Regions from separate parts of the Homo sapiens genome. Here region 1 is linked to region 2. Evidence: promoter capture Hi-C in human tissues and cell types (Jung and others, 2019). All regions are on one chromosome and are shown on one strand. The core of a region is centred on a gene start or on the middle of the fragment in contact, and the rest is flanking DNA. Distances in the headings are between cores, read along the strand shown.

What was found. The method cuts DNA at HindIII sites, captures the fragments that hold promoters and counts their contacts. A contact is called where the count stands out against the background at its distance.
Region 1: a fragment that was not itself captured here is called in contact with the fragment with the promoter of ST14 in region 2 in 2 of the 25 tissues and cell types used here (spleen and thymus).

Annotation. Positions count from the first base shown.
Region 1 is chr11:129,819,146-129,826,410 of GRCh38, reverse strand. The region is part of intron 1 of TMEM45B (transmembrane protein 45B); the gene reads right to left. Among named protein-coding and RNA genes, the nearest start is that of TMEM45B, 6.9 kb to the right of the region's middle. The HindIII fragment of the contact is 6,152 bases long and covers 2,894-7,265 here.
Region 2 is chr11:130,156,465-130,163,457 of GRCh38, reverse strand. It overlaps ST14 (ST14 transmembrane serine protease matriptase), which reads right to left and starts at 3,676. Exons shown (of 19, transcript NM_021978.4): 1 at 3,398-3,676. The coding sequence starts at 3,478. RefSeq lists an enhancer at 1,941-2,440 and silencers at 3,528-3,597, 3,678-3,797. The HindIII fragment of the contact is 3,998 bases long and covers 691-4,688 here.

The DNA of each region.
Region 1 (7,265 bases), core at 4,720-7,219, 340 kb after region 2:
CGCCCAGCTAATTTTTTGTATTTTTAGTAGGCACACGGTTTCACTGTGTTAGCCAGGATGGTCTCGATCTCCTGACCTCGTGATCCGCCCGCCTCGGCCTCCCAAAGTGCTGGGATTACAGGCGTGAGCCACCGCGCCCGGCCTCTTTATTTGTTAAATAGGGAGTTTGGAAGAGGGACTCTCCATGGCTCTTCTGAATTCTGAAATTCCTTTATGTCTTTGCTCCTCATTAATACATCACAAAAACGAAATGCAGAAGTTGGAGCAAGTTTTGGTCATGGAGAAGGGAGGATGAAACTAAGGCTATGGCTATTACCTACAAAGAAGCAGTTACCAGTTGCCACCTCAGCATACATTAGAGTGAAAGGACATCTCTGGACTTCAAAGGTGGGTTTAGTTTTCAAACAACCAAAAAAAAAAACCAAAAAAAACCTTACATATATTTCTGTAATTAACACTATCCTTAACTCAGCCATGGGAAAGAATACATTTAGTTCAGAATTCTCTTTCTGGGCGCTCAAGGAAAATAATAATGGAAAGATCTCTCCAAAGTCATGGAGTCAAATTTCCAAGATGCCAGGCCACTAAGGAACATTTCTTCAAGGCTTGGGCTCTCTGCCTTCTCCACCTCTTGGAAAAAGTGCTCAAGCTTACAGACAGACTCCTTCCTTCCTTCCCTCAGCATCCACTACCAGTGGGCTTGTTCAGCACTGACATTAGTGAGCAGGCAGAGGCTGGGCCTTCCACTTTACTCAACAGTCCTCCTTGCATAAGCCCTTACTTCCGTTTCCTCTTCCCCTTGCAAGAACTCTCACGCACACCCATGGATTAATCACCACTTGCACAATGGTGACTCCCACAACTTCATCTCCAGCTCTGGCCTTGTCTCTAAGTCTCAGACTCATAGATCCAACAACCTGCTGAACAGACAGACATGCACATAAACGTATAGATGTTTCTTAGACACCTCAAGTCAGTATTTCCAAGACTGAACTCACCATCTTCTTTCCCCACCAAATCGGCTTCTCTTCTCATATCCCAAACTTAGTTAATGGCTTAATGTCCAGTCACCCAGAAAGCCAGAATCTTGGGAGTCATTCTGGACTCTCTTCTCCCCTCACCATTGCCCCCAAAGACATCAAAATTCTGCTAAATTCGCTTCCCCAAGTATCCTGGTATTTTCTCTTTCCCTTCTGTGCCTGCAGCAATGATCTCATTTGGTCTCTCATTGTCTTTTTCCTAAACACTGCGAGGCCTCTAGTCCTGCTGTCCATGAATTCTTCTTCCACCCCGCAGCCAGTCATCCACCTTCCGTGTACATCTGACTACACTACTGGAGGATGGAAAATGTTCCATTGGCTAACCAGCAGCCTGTGGAGGGGTCCACGTCCCCTTGCATTGGGTATACCTGAATGTGGCTCCTCTCCAGTGTCACCTCCCAATTCTCCCCACCATGAACCTGACAGTGTCCCCTTTGCTCATGTTGTCCCCTCTAAATTGCACGTCCTTTTCATTCCTCTTACTTGGTTTCCATATTTAGGCCTTATTTCCTCCAGGAAGCCTCTGTGAATCTCCAGGCTGGGCTAAGCGCCTCACCTCTGTGTTTTCAAAGGACCTCATACATACCATGATTTTTTATCACTTACCATGTTATATTAAAATTATATAGTGACATATGTCTTGCCCATTAGTCTACAGAATCTTCAAGAGTGGAGACCTTATCATCTCCATCAAAAACTAGCACAAGCTTGATACATAATAATAGTTCTTAAACTGAACTGAACTGATGCAGCTTAGCCTTCATCTTGAATCAAGAGAACACCATCTCCTAAATCTAGCCATTGGTAAAATTGTTGGTACCGTTACTATTTTCATACAATTCTTAGAGCTAGGTAAGTCCCTTGATTTCTACTACTGTGTCTCACAGACTGGCATATGTGTGAATCCTTTCCCCCCAGATGATATCTGAAATCACAAGACGAACATAATCCTGGAGTATCAATTTCACCTAAAGATTCTGGAAAAATGATTTTCATTTTAAAACAGATACAGACATATTGTGGGGTAGCATATATTTTTTAGTATTAAGAGAGACTGCACTTATGCCAGGCTGTTCTCAGACAAGTCTCCAGGTCCCTGGGAGTTTAGACTCTATTGTTAGTGCTGACGATTGAGAAACAGTAATCTATAGATCACTGTTTTGCACTGTAGTTTAGTTACTGTTCTAGAGCCTCCCATAGAGAAATAAACAGCCCCAGTGAGACCGAAGCAGGAGCTATCTCAGTAATGGCCAGAAGAGAGGGACTTTCATTGTGGGTCTGAGTTAGGTTTGAAAAGATGTCTGTGTGATTGACAGGTAGGTATTCTGAAATGAGCACAACAATGAGCTTTGTATAATGTATAAAATATGCCAGATTGTAGATCAATGTAGGGGAGGAGGCAGAAAAATGACCATTAGAACAGATCAAAGAGAAGCTCTGGATCAAAGTGCAGGCCGATCAAAGACACTGGAAGGAAGGGAAGGGCACTACAGTCAAGGGATGGAACATGAGGAAAAAAATAATCCAAACTGAACTGTGGCTCAGGAGGGACTCGATGCAGGGTGGTTGGTGATAACCTAAGAAATAATTAGATATTTAGTAGGGTGATATGGGGAGTTTTCAATCCAGGAAATTCTACTTAGAGTCCTAGTAGTTAGAGATCTTTCAAGTTTGTTTTCTTATAGCTATTCCATACCATCAGATTTGAGAATGAGGTAGCATCATCCAAGAGGTGGTGACATAAAAAGATTTAACAGAAACAGAGGAAATAGCAAGGGGACAGGTAGGAAGGGCTAGTTTAAAACAGATAATAGGGTCAATTTAAGTCAACTAACATTTATCAAGTACCTGTTATGCATAAGGCACTGTTCTGGGAGATGGAGTTGCAGGGGTGACAAGCCTGGGCCTGTGCTGTCAGGGAGTTTGCAGTCTTTGTTGAAGTCGCCTAAGAAGGAAAAGCTAACAGCAAAAAATCAGGGTCTAATGGGCAGGCTTTCCAAGTGAGAGGCCTTAAGAAGCTAAAGCAGGAACGATTCCTATCAAACGTAGTATCTGTTCCCTTCACGTGATCTAAAACTTTCCCAGGAAAAAAATAAAAAACATGAATCTGCTCCAAGTTTTGATGATCACTGTGGGGCTGCAGAAGGGAAAAATTGCATGGATTTGGAGGGTGACCTTCAAGGACAGAAATTCTGTCCCAAATTCTAGAGATATTAGAAAAATATTTTCCCAGGCTGGGTGTGGTGGCTCATGCCTGTAATCCCAGCACTTTGGGAGGCCGAGGTGGGTGGATCACAAGGTCAGGGGTTCGAGACCAGCCTGACCAACATGGTGAAACCCTGTCTCTACTAAAAATACAAAAATTAGCTGGGCATGGTGGTGGGCGCCTGTAATCCCAGCTACTCAGGAGGCTGAGGTAGGAGAATGGCTTGAACTCGGGAGGCGGAGCTTGCAGTGAGCTGAGATCGCGCCACTGCACTCCAGCCTGGGCCACAGAGTGAGACTCTGTCTCAAAAAAAAAAAAAAAAAGAAAAATGTTTTCCCAATATAATCCATATTTTGCAAATGGTTATCAAAAAGTAAATTAGTTGTACATGTAGTCAAAGAGTTTTCATTCCCTAGTATCTCAGAGCTTTTTCAATAGAAAATAAAACATGGAGAACATCAGCAACTTCAAAGTGCAGGCGGAGTCAAGGACACATTTCCCATTTTGAATCCTAGACCTCCACCTGTCCACCTTACAACAAGAACCTCCGCTATTAAGCAGATGACATAATAAATACATCTAAGTTATTATGTGACTTTTCTCAAACAGGAATAAATGGCTAGAAATGAGATCTTTCTACAGAGAAACCCATTATATGTACTAGAAAGCACTAGAGACAGATGATGATAAGCCATCAAAAAGGCCTTCTCTGCTTAACCACCCTGCAATGAAGCCAGCCAACCTACAAGCCATGCTCACAGATGACGCACACCATCCCCAAACATGTATAAAGCTTCCAACGTGAAAGGCAGGCCAAAAGCAACATTAAACGTCACTTTAAAAATAGACACAGACATTGTAGGTAGCTGAAGAAAACTTCTAAAATGTAGAAAAAGTACTGAGTTAATATGCTTGGAGAAAGAAGAGAAGATGCTGCGTTCATGAAATGAGAACAGGATACTGTAAAAACCATTCAGAAGACCACACCTCTCGCCAATAAAAGCTCCTGAGAATTAAAAATATAATGGTAGAATGTAAACATTTAATAGCATTGTTGGAAGATTTATTAGAACTAAAAAAACATGGGATATTTTTTAAAATAAAAAAGATAAAATTACAAGACAGATCCAAGAGATCCCATTTTCAGATTCAGTCTAAGTAATTTAAGTTTCAGAAAGAAAGAACGAGGAAATTATATAACAGAAGAAAACCACTCAGAACTGAAGAATGTACTTTTTGGATTGAAAAGGCCTAGAAAATACTTAGGACAGTGACGGATACCTCCCTGTATTCCCCCCACCCCGCCAAAAAACCCACCCCAACATTAAATAACAACATCATGAAATATCAGAATATGAACAATAAAGAAAACCCTACAAATGCCCAGAGATTAGAACAAAATACAAGGGATCAGGAATTAGAATGGCATCAGCCTCTCAACAGCACCGTAAGAAAGTAGAATAAAATAGAGCAATGTTTTCAAAATTCGTACGGGAAATGATTTCTGATTAATATCCCATACCCAGCCAAACCAGCAAGCAAGTGTGAAGGAAGAAAAGTGACATCTCAAATGGGCACAAGCTCAAAAAGCAACCGCATCTTATGGGGCCTGAATCTTATACACTTTTGGGAGCCTTCTTTAAGAAAAAGGCGTAAAATTACAAAAACTGTACATAATTGGGTATGAAAGTACATATGTATTCCACAAGAGATGGCCTAGACAGAAAAAAAAAGTGTGTGTGTATTTAGAATGAGAAAATAAATCACAACAGACAGGGACCGTGGAGGTTCTAGACTCTGTCTTTTCAGATGTGCTTGGAAAATTTACCCCAAATGCTTCTTGATGGCGGCCTGGCGTTTCCTCCCCACTCAACAGCTCCATGCAATTAGCAGCACTCAGAGGGCCCCCATGAGTTTCCTTGGCTCCAGGAAATGACTTCTTGGTGATGAGTTCTCAAACAACTAAAGAAAATGTAGCAACTCCTACACCCCATTCCAGGGGGTTGGGGGAAAGACTGGTCAAGAAGGGAAATGTAAAGATCATGGTGTATCATGTGCCTTAGTTGGGAATAATATATACACCAAACATTGACATATCAAAAATTTAGGATATAACCGTACTGGGAACTTAAAAGAAAGGGATGTGAAGGTGAGAGGGAGGGTGGGGGTGTAAAGGAGCGAAACCCTCATCCTTCTTGGTAGGATGTCAATAGATGTCATCCAGAACTGGAAAAGAGAAGAAGAAATGGCCCGTATCTGCATGCTATTTAGAATATGGTAATATCAGAAAAACACAACCCAAAGCATTGAAAGTAATTGCCGCTAGGGTTCTATACTCAGTATAAACTCAATGAAAACCTTCTACAATGAACGACTTCTAAGACTATACATTGATTTATGTTGACCAAAGCAGATAATTAAAAAATAAAGTATACCCTCAAGAGGAGTGAGGCAAAAAGCTAACAGAAATAAAATAAAGTCGCTTTTGCTAAACTACCTGACATTCGGTGTTTCTCAAAATGTATTCCCGCAACCACCTGCCCTCAGATGACCTGGCGTGCCCGTCCATAATGGAGAATTATAGACCCAGCCCAGACCTACATAATCAGCAGTTCTCAGAGTGGTCCTTGCACTCTACCATTTAAAAAAGTTCCCCTGGACCCACTGCATTACCCATTGCTTTTTAGTAAAACAAACAAAAAACCAAAACAAATAACAACCTATTTAGAGACAGGATCTATGACTCATAAAACACACTATGGCAGATGCTGCTAGCTGCCTACCCAATGTTCATTCTCCCCCCGCCTTATTAACAAAATTCCTATTTTGTTGTTATTATTATTTTTTTGAGATGGAGTTTCGCTCTTGTTGTCCAGGCTGGAGTGCAAGTGGCATGATCTCGGCTCACTGCAACCTCTGCCTCCTGGGTTCAAGCGATTCTCCTGCCTCAGCCTCCTGAGTAGCTGGGACTATAGGCGCCTGCTAGCACGCCCGGCTGATTTTTTGTGTTTTTAGTAGAGATGGGGTTTCACCATGTTGGCCAGGCTGGTCTTGAACTCCTGACCTCAGGTGATCCACCCGCCTTGACCTCCCAAAATGCTGGAATTACAGGCGTGAGCCACTGTGTCTGGCCCAAAATTCTTATTTTGATGTATTGGCAACGTGTCTGTCTCAAACACTAGATTCTCTCTGGTTCCGTCACCGTTAACAGTGTGTATGTGATATGGTTCTGGCCAATGACATGTAAGAAGTCTTTTGGGGTGGGCTACCAGAAAAGCTGTTATTATTATTATTTATTATAAAGAAGGACAGGCCAGGCGTGGTGGCTCACATCTGTAATCCCAGCACTTTGGGAGGCCGAGGGGGGCAGATCACAGGGTCAGGAGTTCAAGACCAGCCTGACCAACATGGTGAAACCCCGTCTCTACTAAAAATACAAAAATTAGCTGGGCGTGGTGGTGCACGTCTGTAATCCCAGCTACTTGGAGGCTGAGGCAGGAGAATCACTTGAACCCAGGAAGCGGAGGTTGCAGTGAGCCGAGATTGTGCCACTGAGAGAGACTCTGAGTCAAAAGAAAGAAAGAGATGAGACAGAGAGAGAGAGAGAGAAAAGAAAAGAAGAGAGAAAAGAAAAGAAAAGAAAAGACAAGACAAGACTCTTCTGGAGCATGCCTCTGCCCGTCTTTCTGCTGCAACTTGCGGAAGTGAGTATGAAAGCTCCATGCTAAGGAGGGTGGTGCGGGAAGACACAAGGAGCCTGTCTCAGATGACGTTCATATCGGAACCCCTTTCCCAGCCCCAGCCTTCTCACCTCCAGACTTCTCGTTCTCTGAGAAAAACAAACTCCTTACTTGTTTAAGCCGCTGTAGTAGGGTTTTCTGTTCTTGTAGCTGAATGAACGTCTAATGACATCTCACACTTTTTCAGATGTTTATCTGACATACCACATTTTATGTATGCCTGCTATGGGCACTGTGCTAGGAATAAGACAAGTAAAGCTCTCTTTGTCATGGAACCAG
Region 2 (6,993 bases), core at 2,427-4,926:
GGGCAACATAGCAAGACCCCCATGTCTAAAAAACAAAACAAAATAAAAGTTTAATTTTCTATGGTGGGAGGGGCAGGGGATGAGAAGGAGAAAGGGATATGCAGCTGGCACACATTTTCTTTTCATAGAAAGATATTTCTCCTAGAAGCTGGGTAAAGCAGGGGAATGAAAATCAGAAGGTCTTAGGAAGAGGTCTCTGTTGCTGGCGAGCAGTTCCTTGAATCCTGGGGGCACTTCCCTGTGTTTGGCAGGGCAGGATGGCTCCTCTGTGAGGTCAGGGCCCCACTGACAGCCTGGGTTCTCAGCCTCTCGACAGGCGACCTACTGATACTATACGATCTTCTTGCTTGTCTCAAGTCCCTTTCAACTCAAAAACTCAAGCTGCATCATTTGAACACCACACTGCAACTTACAAAGGGCTTTCATGTAAAGTACCCCTCTTAATCCTTTCAACAAACCTGGAACATATATGTCATCACCATTTTATAGCCACAGAAACCAAGGCTTAGAGATATTGAGTAACATCTCTGAGATCACGTGGCTAGACAAGGCGGCCCCGGGTCTTGGCTGCATGTTACCTCCTGCCACCACATCACAGATGCCTGCAGCCCTAATTTGCTGACCTGGCCCTTCCAGCCTGGGTTAGAGAGATGCCATGTGCTCACCCAGTGCATATCGAGAAGCTAGTACTCATGAGTCAGAATTCAGTTCCCTGTACCCCACACTACCTTGGGTGGTCCCAAGGACAGGGGCTGTGAGTCTAGGGTCTTCCTCACTGCTATTTCCCAGCACCTGGCACAGGCTCAGTCAGTGGGTTACCTAGCAGATATTGTTATGTGAATGAATGCCTGAATGGTTGACAAATTAACAAGCAGGTGACCCTCTGAATAGCCAGAGGTGTACACCCTGGCCCCTAGACATCTGATTTTGGCCACACAACATCCGATTTTTCCAAACTTGGTCTCTGGATGCCTAAGGGATGCTGAGTCTTACCTAGGGCAATTGTGATCGGAAAAGGAACCAGTGGATGTCAAGGCAGCTTCATATTCACCATCAAATACTCAACAGGAATCAAGACCCTCAGGGAGGCAGGCTCCCTGGCTCTCATTAATGGCCATAAGAAGTGGCATCTGTTTCCCTGCTTGCTTGCAGGCAGGGCTCACACCATCCCCAGATGCAGTAACGTGCATCAGGACTCTGAAGGCCACGCAGAACACTTGATGGGAACAGCAGGGGTGGGGCAGGGGCCACACCACCAGCCTTGGGAAGGGGACAGCCAGATACAAATACCACCAAACAAGGGTGCACGGATGGATGCAACTGGGGACAAGGAACCCAGAAACAACAGCACCCTGTGGGCCAGGCTCTGCTGACCCAGATAATAAACCCAGGGGCAGCAGCCACACCTCCCGGCCGGGGATGGACATCCTAGCTGCAAACACACACTACAGGGTGATCCCAGGGACTGGGATTTCTGGTGAGGCCAGGGATGGGAGGAATCTGCAAGACATGGAAATGAGCTTTGGCCAATTTCCTCTGGACACTCCGCCTCACAGCTAACTTTGGCATTCGTCTCTTAGTTTCGCTCTCAAGACTGGATGTTCTTTAAAGGAAACAACCACATCTTACTGGTCTCTGAGAGCCTTCCCTTCACCCATGGGACTAGGTACTGAGTTAGTTCAATAAAGCTCGGCAGGAGAAAAGACAAAGAGCAAGCCAAGAGAATGAAAATGGCAGAGGGGGAAGGAACAGCCCAAGGGCGCAGAGAGCAAATGAGCTTCGCAGAGGAGGAGGAAATGAGCAGGGATGGGGGAAACTAAAGCCAGGGCTTGCAGGTGACAAGACAAGTCCGCTGAATGTGGGATCCTGGGGGTGAGTGGAAGGTGAGCCCCAGCCTGGCTGCTTGTCAGGTGGTGAGATGGCTCAGAGAGGAGGCTGGACCACACGACCAGGAAGACCCTGCTTTCCCCGTGTGGGCAGGAGAGTCCTAGAAAGGGAAGTCAGGGAGAACAAACTTGGGGTGGGGGCACCGGACTGCCCTGAAATAACAAATTCCAAACAGCAGGTTCTCTGCTGAAGAGGCAGGGAGTCTAGAACCCCAAGTAGGCAATTAGCAAGGACACAAACATAGCAATTACAGCAAGGAAGAGAAGGTGAATCTGCCTCACAGCAGGGCACAGGCACAGCCAGGGGAAGGGCCCAAGCCTTCAGGTCCACTGGAAGCTTTCCTCCTTGCTGAGGGTGAAAAGTGGAGAAAATAGCAGAGCCCAGCCCCAGGTCCTGTCTGTGGTGCAGGCAGCCTCCAAAGCCCCAGCGTCTGATTTTCTGCAAGCTCCCTAGGTCGGGATGCTGCTTGGACAAAAGGAATTGATCTGAGACAGCACCAAAATCAGGCCTGACTTAGGGAGCAACGGCGGAGACTATGGAGCCCAGGGGCACCCGGAAGGAGGGGAGAAAGTGAGGGTTGGCAGGGCAGGGAGGCCATCATTTGCAGAGGAGCAAAACTCTCTGCCACACAGCCCCTGCCTCTCAGCGCCGCCCTGACCTGGTATGCCCTGGCCTTCCAGGAAACCTGGGGGTCTGCCTTGGACAGAGAGGGTAGAGACCTGGCTGCTGGTCCCGCCCGGGCACTACCACCTAGGTGGGTCCGTCAATGAAGTGACTAGCGACCCATCCCCAACTCCATACAGGAACATGTAATCTTTTTGAGATCTTTCAATAGGTCTTTCATTGTTCTTTCTGCCAAAGAAGAGCTTCCTGTTTCGGTACTTCGCAAAAGGCTCAAGACATGTGTGTTCCCACATCCCTTCCCATACAGCCGCCTTCCCAAAGGGCTCCATCCCCTCTCGAGAAGCCCAGGCAAGCCCAACTCTGGAGTTCTTAGCTCCAGCCCGTATGGCAGCCAAAGCCCTGGCCTCCCAGTTGTCCTCTGCGAGGTCCCAAAGCGCCTTTTGACGGGGAAGGAGAGAGACGAAAGAAACTTTCTGCAGAGGCCAAGGATGGCTGAGACTCCAAACCCTCCTGAAATTTCACTTCCTCCCAAATAACCCCACTCCAAGCCCCTGGTTTCTTCCAGATGTTCACTAACAGCGCGAGAGTCATGGAGGGGCCGAGACGGAGCCCCTTTTTTCAACTCAGGGAAAGAAAGGACCGAGGGCGCAGGAAGGCCCAGGGGCTTCCCGCCTCCCCCTGGCGGGGCGCAGCCGGTCCGGTACCAAAGGTCCGGCCAGCCCCGCCCGCCCGCGGCCCGGCACCCGCTGAACAGGAAATTCCACCTGTGCGCCCAGAGCTCGGCCACCGACGGACACGCCAGGGGAGCCGGCCGAGCCCAGCGCCGCGCTGCAGGGTCGGGCGGGCAGGAGCTTCCCAGCGCCCCGGGTCCCCGGCCCGCGCTCACCTCGTGCCGGGAGTTGTACTTGAGTCCCGCGCCGAAGTCCTTCGGGCCCCCTCCGCCCTTGCGGGCCCGATCGCTCCCCATGGTCCCCGAGGCCGCTCGCGGGTCTCACAGGCGTCGTCCCTGCCGGCGGCCGGCTCCCATGGCCCGCAGGGCGCGGGGCGCGGGGCGCAGGCGGCGGGATTCCGGGCAGGCCCAGCGCGCCCGACCGGCGGCGGTGCCCTCGCCCTGGCGCGCTCTCTCTCCCTCTTCCTCTTTCTCCGGCTGCAGCTCCGCTCTCACACTCCGGCCCGGCCCACGCAGGTAGTTTCAGGGTGTGGCCTCGGCCCGCCCAGCCCGCCGCGCTCGCCTGCGCACCTGCCCGGCTCACCTGCCCGCCCCCGCCGGCCCTGGGGGAGGCTCCTCCCCTCGGCTCTGGGCCTGAAGGTGAGGGGGCCTCACTCGGGTGGTGGTCGCTAAGGCCCTCACCATCACCACGACGGCGTTCACCACCCCTCCGGCCCTCCAGGGGCCCTGCCCCGGGAGGGCAGCCCTTTATCCACCTCCTTGATGCCAACCATCTTTTCCCTCCTCCCTCATGCGCCTCCGGTCTCTCCCCTTCACCTTGCTCACTTTGCTACAGGACTAAATCGCATTTATGAACCCCCCAAAACCAAACAGAAACCAGAACCGCCCCTGGCCCAGGCTCCCCGTCGGCTACGCAGCCTCCTGTTCTCCAGGCGGGAGGCGCTTGCTGGCCTGCGCCCGGCTACCCTGGGGAGGCCCAGTGACATGAGCTGTGCCACCAGATGCCCTCTGAGCCATCCCAACGCCCCTCGCCCACTTGCAGCATCTGATGCTTCCTCAAATGCCCCCTTTCCCTGGATTCCGGTCCTCCTTTCTAGTCCTAAATGTCATGATTCCCAAAGTTCTCCCTTCAGTTTCATCCCTTTCTTCTCTAAGCTTTTTCTCTTGGCAGCACGTCTCATCTTACGACTTCAGACAGGAAGACCTCCCTCCCAGCACAGACACCACCAAGGAGTGCCAGTTCTGCCTTAGCGGTCGCCTGGGGACGTCTCCATTTATGTTCTACTGTATTCTGTAGCCAATGAACATTACCAAGCACACACTAGGCGCTAAGCACTGTCCTGGGTACAGGGAAACAGGAGTGAACAAAATAAAAATCCCTGCTTTGAGATCAACAAGCCCCATCTTCCTTCCCTGACTTGCCCATTTTCCACTGTTTTCTCTAATTCTAATGGCAGCATTCTCCCAGGCTCAAATCCTGGAATCATCTTTGATTCTCCACCCTGCTTACATCTCATATCCAATTAGTTCCAAATCTGATCAAGACTCTGCTGACAAGCATAGCCCTTCCATTCCTGCGCATTAGAAGACCGCTATTCGAGTCCTCAGAGCCCTTTGCCTGGTTAAGAAAGATCTCCTGCCTCTGGGCTGCCACCCTCTGATCTCTCCTACACAAAGCAGTCAGGTAAATCTGAAACCACAGCTCCTTTATGACTTTCCGTGTCTCCCGGATCAAATCCAACCTCCTTAGCCCAGCTTCACACTCTGCCCTGTCCTCCCTTAACACCGTGCCTCCAAGCATTCCTGTTTGGAGCCCCTCTCTCCAGCCAGGCGTTCTGATCTTGGCAGCTTTCATAAAGCTTTTCATCCCCTGGAAGCTCTTCTCCTTCATACTCCTTCCGCATATTGGGTCGAAGACACCGATGGGGTTTTTTAGTGTTGTTCATTGAATGTTTTTAGCTCTCTGCCTTCTGGGCACAGGCCAGGGTGTTACTCTCTCTTCTCTGAAGTTAGGTATGGCAGTATGGCTAGCGGTAACCAAGAAAATGTCCAATGAGAGGACACACCACTTGTACATAGCAGCATAAGGAGGCACTGCACAATGCCCTGCTCTCTTCTGAGAGGTTTAACTCTGTGACCTGTGACCCTAAGTGGCTACAATGACACACACTGGATATGTAGCATGAATGAGGAGTCAGTCAGCTTTTGGGATGTTAAGCCACCGAGAGCTGAGGGTTGTTTGTTATTGCTGCAAACCTCACGCTTCCTGACTGATATGCTACCTCCTCCCCAGGAGTTTCCTTCCCTCTCAACCAGAACTAGCTCTGTTTGTACCTCTCTCATGGAGCTCACCACCATTTCGTTGCATTTTCTGTCTGTGTCTTAACTGCCTTTGCACCCTCAAAGCCTAGCACAATGACTAACACAATATATTGGGTCAATTTAATTGAAAGAAGAATGAATCTGCTGCCTTCCATCACATAAAGCATTCCAAAGCTAAACAGAAAATATTTCTAAAAGGCTGGCACGTTGGCTTCCAGCACTTTGGGAGGCTGAGGTGGGTGGATCACCTGAGGTCAGGAGTTTGAAATCAGCCTAGCCAACATATAGTGAAACACCATCTCTACTAAAAATACAAAAATTAGCTGGACATGGTGGTGCATGCCTGTGGTCCCAGCTACTTGGGAAGCTGAGGCAGGAGAATTGCTTGAACCTGGGAAGTGGAGGTTGCAGTGAGCCGGGATCATGCCACTACACTCCAGCCTGGAGCGAGACTCCATCTCTCAAAAAAAAAAAAAAAAAAAGAAAAGAAAAAAAAGAAAAAGAAAATATATAAAAATAAATTTTCCTTTGGATTACCAATGGCACAGCATTCTTCAACTAGTGTGAGTGATGGAAAGTAAGCCAAATTCAATGTGACGTAAATGAGATGGTACTCCTGACACACAGACCTTCTGTGCTGCTGCAAACGCAGTGACTCACGTTGTCTCCCCACTTCCTAGGGCCTCATCTTTTATCTCGTAGAGCTGGGCGCTCAGCGTGATTTGGATGCCGTATGAATGCAATGCATTGACTGCTAGTGCAGATGAAGAGAAAGCGATGCAGGACAAGACCCTTCCCCTAGGATGGCTGCATGGGGATACCTTGCTGCATGCACCCTATGTGCACTCCTGGGTTGGAGGAGGCAGTGTAACCATATGTTATTCCATGAATCCCATTTGGTTTAATCCTCAAAAAATTATGAAATGTCAGTGCTTTTGTTCCTAAATGGTAAGTGAAGGAACCCAAGAGCAGACAGCCTCCAGAACAGGACCAGATTCTCACACTCACAAGGAACAAATCCAACTCAAGCCCAGATTTTGGCTTGAGGTCCGTGTCATTTCTCTGCTATAGAAAGAGTGACTCATGACCAAATGACCCAACCTTCACCACCCACTGTGCCTTCTCCACCACCCCCTCACTGGCCCTTCCCCGGCCCCAGCACTGCAAAGCTGTCATCGCTCCTCTCCAGGGAGCCATCCTCTTCCTGGTTCCAGGACTGCCTGCTGGGAAAGTTACATCTGTGTCCCTGGGACCCCCTCAAGGGCATGTCCAACAAGCCCCTATGTCCTTGTGGCCGGGACCACTTAGAAGGTGTGCAAATGTGGACCTGCCCACAGGCTAAAGGACACTGGCTGAAGCTGGTGACAATGTGGGAGACAGTAGGGCCATGTGAGGTAGGCCCAGCCCAAGTGTGAAACAGCCAGTGCTCTGGTACCATCCAAGGCGGGGAGACCAGAGCAGCTTGTGCCAGGCCTGCAGGCGACTCATGC